Regions from separate parts of the Homo sapiens genome. Here all the other regions are linked to region 2. The links are contacts of gene promoters, found by promoter capture Hi-C in blood cells and fetal thymus (Javierre and others, 2016). All regions are on one chromosome and are shown on one strand. The core of a region is centred on a gene start or on the middle of the fragment in contact, and the rest is flanking DNA. Distances in the headings are between cores, read along the strand shown.

Region 1 (3,854 bases), core at 1,340-3,839, 3.0 Mb after region 2:
AAATATATTAAATATTGATCTTGCTTATACTGTGAACTGTCTCAAAAACATTTTCTAAGTAATTTGCAAAGTGCAGATTTTATCTCAGCTGTTATGCAAATTACGTATTCTTAATTAGTGACATATTGGGAGATTTTAATAAAGAAAAATTCATTAGTAAGCCTCATTCTTTTAAGGAGAATGGTATCTTGGGAGGTTTGTTGATAAAAAAGATGAATACCTGAACTACTTTGTTAAACACTCACTAAACAAGGTTCTCACTCATGGAGTTAGATCCACGCCCTTATCAAACCATGACAAAGATATTGTAAGTGGTCTCTTAGTCACCATTTTTCTTTCCTATATGTGCATTTTACTTGCCTCCAGACCAATATTAACTAATGTAGATCTCTGTTAAAGTCATTATGCTACTCAGTAATCTTCATGGTTCCCCTTTTCCTACTAAAATAAAATCCAATGTCATAAAACAGGTACATGAGGCCTCCATAGTCTAGTTTCAACCTGCTTTCCCTATGTTATTTTCTAATATTTTTCTACCCTGCTCTCCAATCCGATTATTATGCTTACTACCTCCTCTTACATTTTCCACCTTCTTACCTTTCTTCATAACATTCCTGACTCTGGAAGATTTGTTTAGAGTTCATATCCAGGCTGGAGCAGTTATCTGATCAGCACAGAGAATGGTAGTATTACTGTTCCCTTTGATCCAGGCTCTAAATTTTTATTAAAGGAACTTAAGGTTACTTTTTTATACCCACATTGCTATATGGGCTTACATTGAGTTTATATTCAACTAAATACTAACAGGTCTTATTTATATGACCTTCTGTCAAGCTGAGTTCCACACATTCTTAGTAAAGTTTGCAACCCTGTACATTTGGCCCTCTTAAATCACTGCTTTCCTTTTTGAAAACAAAATATCTCTTGATTATACCATCTCCTCTCCATTTCTGCTACTGCCTTAGCCCTTACCACCTTAAGCCCTTTATGAGACTAGCAGAGAGAGAGTAAAAGAGGAAGCAAAAGAAAGAAGGAAGAAGCATTGTTCCTCACATGTGGACTTATGTTCAGTCCCCTCCTCCTTCCAAACTATGTCCTATATAACTAGCAAGGAAAAAAATCATTGTAAAATTAAATCGAATGATCATGACTCCCCCCAGACAAATTCCCCTCAATGCCTCCTTGTTGTCTTCACTGTAGCCTCAGATCTGATGTAATTCATTTCCTATCCTCATCTCCCTCCTTATTTTTCATCTCTTATCGTCAAACAGCTCACACTCTCTGTCTCTGGCCTTTGTATTTGTATTTCCTTGAGATGACAACATCATTTCCCAGCTTCTCTTCCTGGCTTACTGTAATTCCTTCTTCAAGACTCAGCTCTGGCACTTCCTCCTCTACGAAACTTTCCTTGGCACCCTATAGTAGAATGTGCAGGTGCTCTTGCTCTCTGTTCCAGTGACACCAGATTTACCTCTATCATGATGCCCATTATGCGGGTCTGAATTGCCTGCTCACTTTCTCTCTCCCCAGAATTAGACTTTGACCTTCTTGAGCTCCTTGAGACCAATGAGTTTGTCTTTCATCCCTGTAACTCTAGAGTTGGAAGAGTGCCCAGGAGTTTGTCAGTTTATGGTGCCAGTAAAACTATTCCTGATTTTTCTCCTTGTTTATCCAAGAAGAGTAAAGGGCAAGATAAAAAAGGAATGTGATGGAATTCAATTTAAGCAAAATCAGGATTTCAGCCTTTTGATATTTTAACTAATTTAGTGAGCATTTATATTTTGCTATGCATTGTCATTCCATTAGTACAGGTGACTATAATTAAAGCTTTCATGAGATTATTTTGATTCACCCTTATCGTAAGACTAAAAATGAAACAGACACAAATAATCTGTCATAAATGGTGATTCTCTGGGACCCAATTTTTTGGAGCCAGTAGTGAAACAAGCATTGGATTTTCTGGGCTGGGAAAACTGGAGATATTCAGGTCCCTATTGATTTGCCTTCTTTGGAAAATGACTGGCTCAAAGACAACTGGGCCTTGTCCCTCTATCATGGCCATCTTAAATGTTATTTAATACCAATAATCAGTAATAGGTTTTACTGGAATGACAGAGTTGTGTAATCTCTGGAAATTTTCTGAAGATTTCTAGTGCCTTTTTCTGATATGGTTTAAGCATATATTTGGTCAAAGGTACTCTCTCAAGGGTCCATCCAGTTAAGAATCTATAATCATTAAGCCTCAAACATTCTTAAAATAATGAAGGGTTCCTCTTTCCACAACTTCCTCTTTACTTTCCTGATCAGTAAATTGACCAGAAGAAATTAACCTACTTACTACTAACTGTTTATTTCTTATATCAGCAAGTATGTATATGTGTGTGTTTTAACAAATCTAAAAGTAGATTTCTTATAAACAAGTGTATCAGCTTTCCCTTATAGTACCTAGGTAATTATCAATTGATTAATCTGTATATTTTAATGATTTGGCTCCTTCTCTAAAGAAGCAGAAAACTACTTCAAAATCTAAGATAGCTGAGACTTCATTACTTGTTGCAAAATAGAATTTAAGTGGTAGAATCCCACTGGGGAGTACTAACATGAATAATTACCATTACAAACAATCTTCCAAAATGAACAGTTTCACTGCATTGATTGATAGTAGCATCTTCAAATGTGATTTACATTTATATCTCTAATGAAAATTAGTACGTACTTCACACTTTCTGATTTTTCTATGTCCCTTCTGTGGCAACATAATGTCTTATTTCTTCTATTTGTATTTGTAAATTATAGAGTAATATTTGTGACAGGCAATGGGTGAATATGTTTTGCTAAGAGCCTACACTTACATCATCTGATTTTTCAAAATACCTACTGTGTTCCACTCTACATTTCAATTTAATTTCTTTTAATTTGAAATGTGTCTTGAGTAACTGCCATGGATTTATCATAATGCAATACTTTGTGTTTCCCACTTTTAAAATTGTATTAAAATTATTGGAAAAAGTAACCTGGAGACAGCCTTGACTGAAAAAAACTTGAATGACATTAAGTCAGAGTTACCATATCTGGAATATTTGTTCCAAGTTAGATGTAGCATGTGCTTTACATAAATTATTTCCAACTCTTGTAATGAAGGAAGTATTTTCTCTATTTTGCTGGTGACAAAACTAAAGCATAGAGTTAAGTAAATTGTTCAAGTAAATTGTTCAAGGGCCATGTTAGCAGGTGGCTAGACCAATATTCAAATGGGGGTGGATCTGATGCCAAAGCCTGGGCTTTTATTCTAACACAAGGCCACAAGCCACATTAATCTTTATTATTGCCATTAATATGCCACAAGCTTATATGTTACCTCTTACTGTCTAATCTTCCCAGACTCAAAAAAGACATAGGCTAAGACCAAGCCATATTAGTCTAGTTTTTCTGTCTAGTCCATATCAGAACATATACTGTAAGTGCCCTAGTTCACAGGGTTAGGAATCACTATATTATTTAGTTGGTAATTTTCCTTTCTGTGGCTTCTGGCATAAGCTCTCTCTAGAACCAGGGCCAATTGTTTCTCTCTAATGACTTGGAGGGAGGCTAGCCTGAGGCTATCCTTAAAAGTGCAAGTTGATTTATCATCTTTTCCTTTGTTCCATGGATGAGATCCAACATGCAGCTTCAACTAGCCTCACGGGGACAGTTATGTTAACTGATTTCATTCCACAAGAAGAAACATTGGTAACAAGATTTGGCTATTTTCTAATGTTATGAATGCAGTGTTTAAGCAATTATTAAAGTATATGCATACTTTTTAATCTCATTCCCTGTGCCAAATATCTAGATAGATCGATAGATACATAGAT
Region 2 (3,742 bases), core at 10-2,509:
ACACACATGGCAGGAGAGAGAAGAAAGAGAGACAGACAGAGAGAGAGACTGAGTGAGAGAGAGAGATTCATTTTAATGGACAGCATCAATATTTTTATAGGGCCAGTTTGCAGAACTGCTTACAGCTACAAACCCAGCAGACAAGGCACTATTAAGAAGGTTACATGAGCATGAAAATTCTACGTTGAAAAGAATGGGAATCTAATAGTTGGTTTTGCAAACACACAAGCTCTCGTGACAGTAGGTTTTGCAGTATCTAAATACAAAAGACAAGCTCTCTTGCCCCATTGAGGATATCGCATGCCCAAGGTTTTTCACATTTTCAATAAATGCAGATGTCTGCTCAGGACTTTCTTTACAGCCTCTTTGACCTCTTTATTCCTGAGGCTATAGATGATGGGATTTAACATTGGGCTTACCACTCCATAAGACAGCCCAATAATCTCATCAGATGTATTAGTGTTCTTTGACTTGGGTTTCATGTACATAAAAAGGGCTGAACCGTAGAATAAGATGACCACAATCGAGTGCGCTGAACAGGTAGAGAAGGCTTTCTTTCTTCCCTCAGCACAATTAATTCTCAGGATGGAAGAGAGAATAAACACATAGGAGATGAAAATTAACAGTAGAAGAATCACCAGTGAAACAATATTTGTCACTGTCATGATAAGCACATTGATGGTGATATCTGAACAAACAAGTTTTAGAAGGGCCAAAATTTCACAGGTAATATGATCAATGACATTATTCCCACAGAAAGGCAACATCATTGTCAGAACTGTTTGCAATAGGGAGGTCAGACAGCCTATGATCCAGGACCATGCAGCCATTTGCACATACAGCACTCCGTTCATGATGATGGAGTACCTCAGTGGGTTGCAGATGGCCACATAGTGGTCATAGGCCATCACAGCCAGGAGGACACACTCAGTGGAGCCCAAGCCAAGGGACACAACCATCTGCAGAGCACAGCCAATGAAGGAGATGGATTTTCTCTCAGACATAAATATAATAAGCATTGGAGGAATGGATGAGGATGTGTAACAGATGTCCAAGAATGAGAGGTTTCCAAGAAAGAAATACATGGGAGTATGGAGGCGAGAATCCAAGATGGTGATGATAATGAGGAGGCTATTTCCCAGGAGGATTATCATGTACATGATGAGGCAGAGCAGGAACAGAAAAAGCTGGAGCTCTGGATATTGGGAAAGCCCCACCAGAAAGAATTCAGTCATGGCAGAGTAATTTCTTGTCTCCATGTGTTCTAGGTCACCTGCCTGCTGGGTAGTATAGAAAAGGACATGATTCAGGTAAATTGAAATGTTTGATACATCAAAATCTGTAAATCTGTACATCTACAAATTTTCAATACAAATTTGCTTCCGATATTGTGTTTGATTCTTAGAATACTCTCAGTAAGCAAAACAGTATGGATATTGTACTAGTTTTATTGATTATGAAAATTGAGACATTGAGAAACCCAATATATCTTAGGACTACACAGCAGCACATTCAAAGCTACCAATACTGCCAGAATTATTCTGGGAAGTGTCAAATAAAGTTTAGGAACATGCTGCTTTCAAATGTAGAAAGAGATTTTGAACTTAAAGCTGTTTTTTTGATGAAGCTGGCCTCTATTTAAAAGATTTTATAGACTGCCAGTGACATATCATTTAACCTGGATGTAGCTTTGGTAAGTTGTTTATTTTTCTGAGTTGCAGATAGTTCATAGTAAGCTTGGAAAAAGCAATAATTATTTCTTAGAGTATAGTTAGAATTAGATAAAATATTAGGTGCCTAGAACCTAATGGTTCCAACATGGCATATGTGTGTGTGTGTGTGTGTATGCATATATGTAATATAATTATATTTACCTTATACAAGATATAATATTAAATGTATTTTTATACACATGCATTTTATGAATTATAGTATAATATTTAGATCTACCAATCTTAAAAGGGAAAAGTAGATTTAGCTTTTTAAAGGTAAAAGGTTTAAAGTTTGAAACCACACTTGACAGACTGTGAACATTTTTGTTCTCAGTGGGATATTTCATTGCACTTCTTTCAAAAACCTGTTAGGAGTCTGAGAATCATTGGAGGACTGTTCTAGAAGCTTCCAGAGATTAAGGAGTCTAGGTCCCAGCATGTACAGCTTTTTTTCCAGGCCCTGGGATTCTCTCTTCTTAAGTGTAGTATTACTGCCATTTTACAAAGTAGGAAACAGAGACAAAGAAAAGTTTAAGTAACTTTCTCAAGGTCATACAGATAGTAAATACTAAAGCCAGAATTCAATATCTAGCCATCTGGCTATAGAATCAGCCCTTTTACCCACCATACACTACTCTCTCTCAGTGGTTACTACACAGATTCCACGCAAGAGAAGACTATTACAAAAATGTATCTTCTGTTGGGGTACAGTGAGACAGCAAACATCATTTACTTGTGATTCTGATCATATGTGATGTGATGGAGAACTCTGAAGGCTGGACCACTTACTTTTTCCTGTAGCTTTTGATTGTGGTCTGCTCAGTTTTCTTTTCTTTTCTCTCGCTGTTTTTTTTTTTTTTTTTTTTTTTTAAGACGGAATCTTGCTCTGTTGCTTGGGCTGGAGTGCAATGGCGCGATCTCAGCTCACTGCAACCTCCACCTCCCACATTCAAGCGATTCTCCTGCCTCAGCCTCCCGAGTAGCTGAGATTACTGGCATGCTCCACTACACCTGGCTAATTTTTGTATTTTTAGTAGAGACGGGGTTCATATCATATTGGCCAGGCTGGTGTCGAACTCCTGGCCTCAAGTGATCCTCCCACCTTGGCCTCCCAAACTGCTAGGATTACAGGCATGAGCCACCCTGCCTGGTCTGCTCAGTTTTCTATGTGTAGAAGGCGATTTCACAGCTATGAAAAAAAGCATGATCAAGAATAATGATACAAAAGTCCTTTTCATCACCTTTGCCTTTTTCTTTTCTTTCTTTGTTTTTCTTTTGAGACAGAGTCTCACTCTGTTGCCCAGGTTGGAGTGCAGTGGTGTAATCTCAGCTCACTGCAACCTCCGCCTCCCAGGTGCAAGTGGTTCTCCTGCTTCAGCCTCCCAAGTAGTTGGGATTACAGGCGCATACCACCACACCCAGCTAATTTTTGTATTTTTAGTAGAGATGGGATTTCACCATGTTGGCCAGGCTGGTCTTGAATCCCTGACCTCAGGTGATCCACCCTCCTCAGCCTCCCAAAGTGCTGGGATTACAGGTGTGAGCCACCATGCCCAGCCCACCTTTGCCTTTATCAGTAACATATCAAAAATACCACAGCCCCTGCCCTCACTCTGCAAATCTAAATGCAGCATAGAGTCTTTTGAGAAACTACTCCCATTTATAACATTAGTGCCACATCTTTGAAAACTCAATGTGCTCCATTCGTTTCATATTCATTACATTGATATGTCCAAGTATTGTGTTAAGATGTCTTATATAAAGGGCTGTTTCTCATACATTGTTACACTATTACCACAAGAACTATATCTATGCTGGGCTCTCCTTGTGGAATGAGAATATTTCTTACTGATCTTATTCTGACCCTACAACCACACTTTTGCTTTGGCCTTTTCATATCCAGAGACTTTGAAGACAGGATGAATGCTTACTCTCTGGGTAGTCATAGATGGCAAGCCCTCCTAGCTCCCTGTTGCATAATGATGAAAAATGTAGTATTATGGGGAGACTAGAAGAAACTCAGCATGGTC
Region 3 (4,089 bases), core at 318-2,817, 3.0 Mb after region 2:
AGCTGGGATTACAGGCACGTGTGACCCCTCCGTGCAATATATATATATATATATATATATATATTTTAGCTGAGATGGGGTTTCACCATCTTAGCCAGGCTGGTCTCAAACTCATGACCTCAGGTGATCTACCACCTCAGCCTCCCAAAGCACTGGAATTAAAGGCATGAGCCACTACACCTGGCCCAAGCTCTATTTCTTAGTAGCTGTGCCACCTTGGGAAAATTACTCACTTTTTCTGAACCTTGATTTTGTCTTCTATTAAAGGGGGATGATCATTGCAGTCACCTCATGAGGCCATTGTGAGGATGAAATAAAATAATATGCATAAGGCACTAGGGACATCAGTAGGTATTAGCTCTTCATTTGTATAATTATTATTAAATTACAATTTCTGGGCAGGGACTACACCTTATGCTTGTCTGTGTCCTTAATGTAACCATAAGAATAGTTAATTTATTTAAAAGCCTGGGCTGCTAAAGGAACAATCTTTAATTTTCAGAAGAAAAAGTCTTCTGTATAATATAGGTCAAATGAGATGTGAGATAATGAGAAACAGAAAACCTCCTGCAGCCTCTTTGGCTGAGGAGAAGCGATAGCTGTGTAGAAAGCCTGTTCTGAGCCTCTCAAATGTATTTAGTAATCAGCAGACGGATGAAAGGAAGGAAATTTCATCTCTGGTAAAAGCAGTGGAAACATTATGTTCACTTGAGCTTTTTGGGCTTTGACCTAGCTCATTTGGTTCCCCTTGCCCAGGAAAGAGCTGAGAGAATTGCATCTTTTCTCTTCTCTTAAACCCAGCCCCATCACCTCTTTTATTCAGTCAGGGAATATCTCAAAGCTCTGTGGCAAACTCTTTCCTGCAGGCAATCCTGTTTTTGAAACTCTTACTAATCCACAAACTAGCAGAATCTGTGCTCTCTGAGAGAACAAAGACTGATGAGGGATCTCCAGGAGTTGGCACCAAGAATTCCTTAACTTGCATGCTGACTGGTACTGGAGCTTGTTACTAAAGAAAGAAGAGTTGGGGGTGTGGGGAGGACTCTACTGTAAACATAGTATCTCCCAAATAAACAGCCTCTCCCAATATGTTACAGAGCACTTCTGTTTTCCTGCTGAGAAGTTGGTGTAATTTATGTTTGTAAAAGATATCTATTGCTGAGACCATTGTATGAAAATAGACAAGAAAAAGGAGAAGGAGCAAAAGCAAAGAAAAATACTGTATTGCAGTCAGTCACTTCCAACAGTGACTAAACTCTGTAAGTCAATTGTAACAACTACTACTTATGGGCCCTCACTCTGCGCCAGGCACTTTCCATGCATTCTCACATTCTTACATTTAATTCTCAAAATGAATCCATAAGTTAGGAAGTAGCATTGTCCTCATTTTAGAGATGAGGGAGGTATGACTCAGAGATACTAAATGACTTACAAAAGGCCACATGGTGCATAAATCATGGAGACAGAACTTAAGCATAGGTTGCCCTGACTACTAAGTCCTAACCTCTATACTGCTTCTCAAAAGAGGACAGAAAAGCCCAACTGCTGAAGAAGACAGTGGCCCCACCAGCAAGGAAAACTTAGAACTTAAGGACACTGTAGAACCTGCTGAAGAGGACAATGCAGAATCGCACAGGAAATATAGAAGCAGATGGTGGCTCCAACCATTTATCTGAGACTAGGAAGACAGTACCCAGTCAAAGAAGAATGGATGGTCAAAATGAGACTACATTTTTAGTTAAATGTGTTTACTTTTATAAATCATTATATATATTTACCTATATAGTGATCAATTGTTTTCAAATACATCTCGTTTTTTTCTTAAGTCCCAATTAAAGAACGCTTGTATAGTACAAATACTCGTCTCTCCCAACCCCTACAAATCATAATTACTAAATTAATATTTCCTAGTTTCTTCTTCCTCTCCTAGTTTTGCTGGACCCTATTATTTCATTTACAGTAATTTTCATGACTTCTAGTTATAGGAAGTGTTTATTCATATAGTTAGTTACATATTGTCTATCTCTCATCCACCATAGAGACAACAGGAAATGCCATGCAGAGGTCATGGCTCAAGGTAGGAGCTTAAAATTATTTTTCATGATTGAATAAGTGTTCAGTAAAGGCTTCTATTTCCTTATTGACTAGTAAATGTTTTATACATTTGGTGAACATTAACTCTTTGTCTACCCAATTTATTACTAATATTCTCTTGTTTTTCATGTTCCTTTATTTTTTATGATAGGTGTTTAAAACTAAAAATACGGTGTGCTGTGATAATTCAATGTTTTCCTTTTATTATTGTAATTTCTGATACATATTTACCTTTTGGTCTATCTTTTAATGATTTGATATTGTACTTTTAGCTCTTTAATGGCCTGGAACATATTTTTAATATATGATGTAATGAGAAATTTAATTGTTATTTTTCTAACTAATCTATTTTCTCAAATTCTAATATCCTATTTCCTTCCCTATTTCTTTGTTATTTTAATTTATAACACAGTAATTTAATACTCCATTAGTACCTATTAGTACCTATTAGTGCTTCCCTGTTTTAATTATTATTGCTTTATAAAAATGACATTTTCTAATGTGTTCTAATATCCTCCAAAGCAAGGCCTATCATTTTCTTTTTCCAAATATTTTTACCACTCTTGCCTGATTTTTCTGTATATGGAACTTTAATATTTACAGTCTGATCCATAGCGGGTTAAGCAATCTTCTCCCACACCACTGAATGATTCTTTGATGCTTTGAACCAACTTCTTGGTGACTCCTCTCTCCCTGCAGCTCTGCACTTACTTGGGATTTCATTCTACGAGTGCATGGCAGCACACACATTCCCCAGCCATATTTCCTGCCCTATTCTTTTGGAAATTTCAGGCTCTGAAACAATGTCTAACCAGATTATGATGGAACAAAACCTGCAAAATTAATGGAGTAGAGTGGAGTTTCATCTCCACTAGAAATGAAGATTCAATTCAAAGTGTAGAAAAATTACATTTTAAAATCTTTTAAATTACCTATTTAGCTTGACATATATGGTTTTGTGTATACAATATGAAAAATAATATAGCTACATTAAAGTATGTGATAATATAAATAATATACCATAATATAATAAGTAGCACACTTATTTAAGGGAATGAGAATTATCAGTACTATTTAAATTCATATTTTCTCCCTCCCACCTCTCTCTTCTGAGCCTGTTTATTTTAATATAGATAAATTGAATGTACCTATAAGGCAGTTTCACTCTATCTGCATGATAGAGACAGGCTTCCTATTTCTTGAGTTGTTCTGTTTCTGGATCTCTGATTTAGGAGAAAAACAATATGGAAATTACTTTTAAAATCTTTATATCTTCTTTCAGGCCATGAGCTTGCTCTTTTGCAAACAACAAACCATATGTAAGACACAGATTTTCCTTTTCAATTTTACTCAATAGGTCTTGTTTAATTTTTGTCCTGGATTTTGACAAAAATTTTACTATCAGGCTTGAATTTTAGTGTTATAAGTTTTCATAATCTTTGTGTGTGTGTGTGTGTGTGTGTGTGTGTGTATGTGTGTGTGTGCATGTGTATGCATGTGCATATGTGTGTGCCTTTGTCCTTATATGGGGAGAAATTGGAAAACACTGCATCTGAGGCTGCTAAATCAATAATATCTCATTAGATGCTTCTAAACTATCATTTAATAATTTTCTGAAGAAATATGTCTCAAGTTTGTGTAAGGATTAATTTCAACATCTGGAATTTCTCAGTAGAATTGTTTGTAGGGGTGAGTGTGATTATATGAATTAATCATTATCCATTGTAGGGGTCTTCATTTCACTCCCATGTCTCTCTCTCTCATGCCTATTGGATTTGTTTCTCTGTCTAATACTAAATGCTCAATATGATTAGCTAATTCAACTTCCTATTTAGCAAGAAAGCAACAATTTCATCCGTGACTCTTAAGCCATATTATTGATTTTTAAATCTGTCCTATGGGTGATTCGGAGGTTATGGTGCAGGAGAATGATATGGTCATATTTGTATTTTAGGAAGAAAACTGGCAACAGAATAGGGAGCTGAAGCCAAGAAA

The links. Contacts are between HindIII fragments. The CHiCAGO score rates a contact against its expected background, and 5 or more counts as called.
Region 1: a contact is called between a fragment that was not itself captured here and the fragment with the promoter of OR13D1 in region 2, in 2 of 17 cell types (M2 macrophages and endothelial precursors). The highest score is 7.3, in M2 macrophages.
Region 3: a contact is called between a fragment that was not itself captured here and the fragment with the promoter of OR13D1 in region 2, in 1 of 17 cell types (endothelial precursors). The highest score is 5.5, in endothelial precursors.

The regions. Positions count from the first base shown.
Region 1 is chr9:101,671,529-101,675,382 of GRCh38, reverse strand. All of the region lies in intron 2 of GRIN3A (glutamate ionotropic receptor NMDA type subunit 3A), which reads left to right. Among named protein-coding and RNA genes, the nearest start is that of GRIN3A, 65 kb to the left of the region's middle. The HindIII fragment of the contact is 1,519 bases long and covers 1,830-3,348 here.
Region 2 is chr9:104,692,035-104,695,776 of GRCh38, reverse strand. It overlaps OR13D1 (olfactory receptor family 13 subfamily D member 1), which reads right to left and starts at 1,259. Exons shown (of 1, transcript NM_001004484.2): 1 at 315-1,259. The coding sequence starts at 1,259. The coding sequence ends at 315. The region is part of intron 1 of LOC107987105 (a long non-coding RNA gene); the gene reads left to right. The HindIII fragment of the contact is 5,977 bases long and covers 1-1,738 here.
Region 3 is chr9:101,689,220-101,693,308 of GRCh38, reverse strand. All of the region lies in intron 1 of GRIN3A (glutamate ionotropic receptor NMDA type subunit 3A), which reads left to right. Among named protein-coding and RNA genes, the nearest start is that of GRIN3A, 47 kb to the left of the region's middle. The HindIII fragment of the contact is 5,431 bases long and covers 1-4,089 here.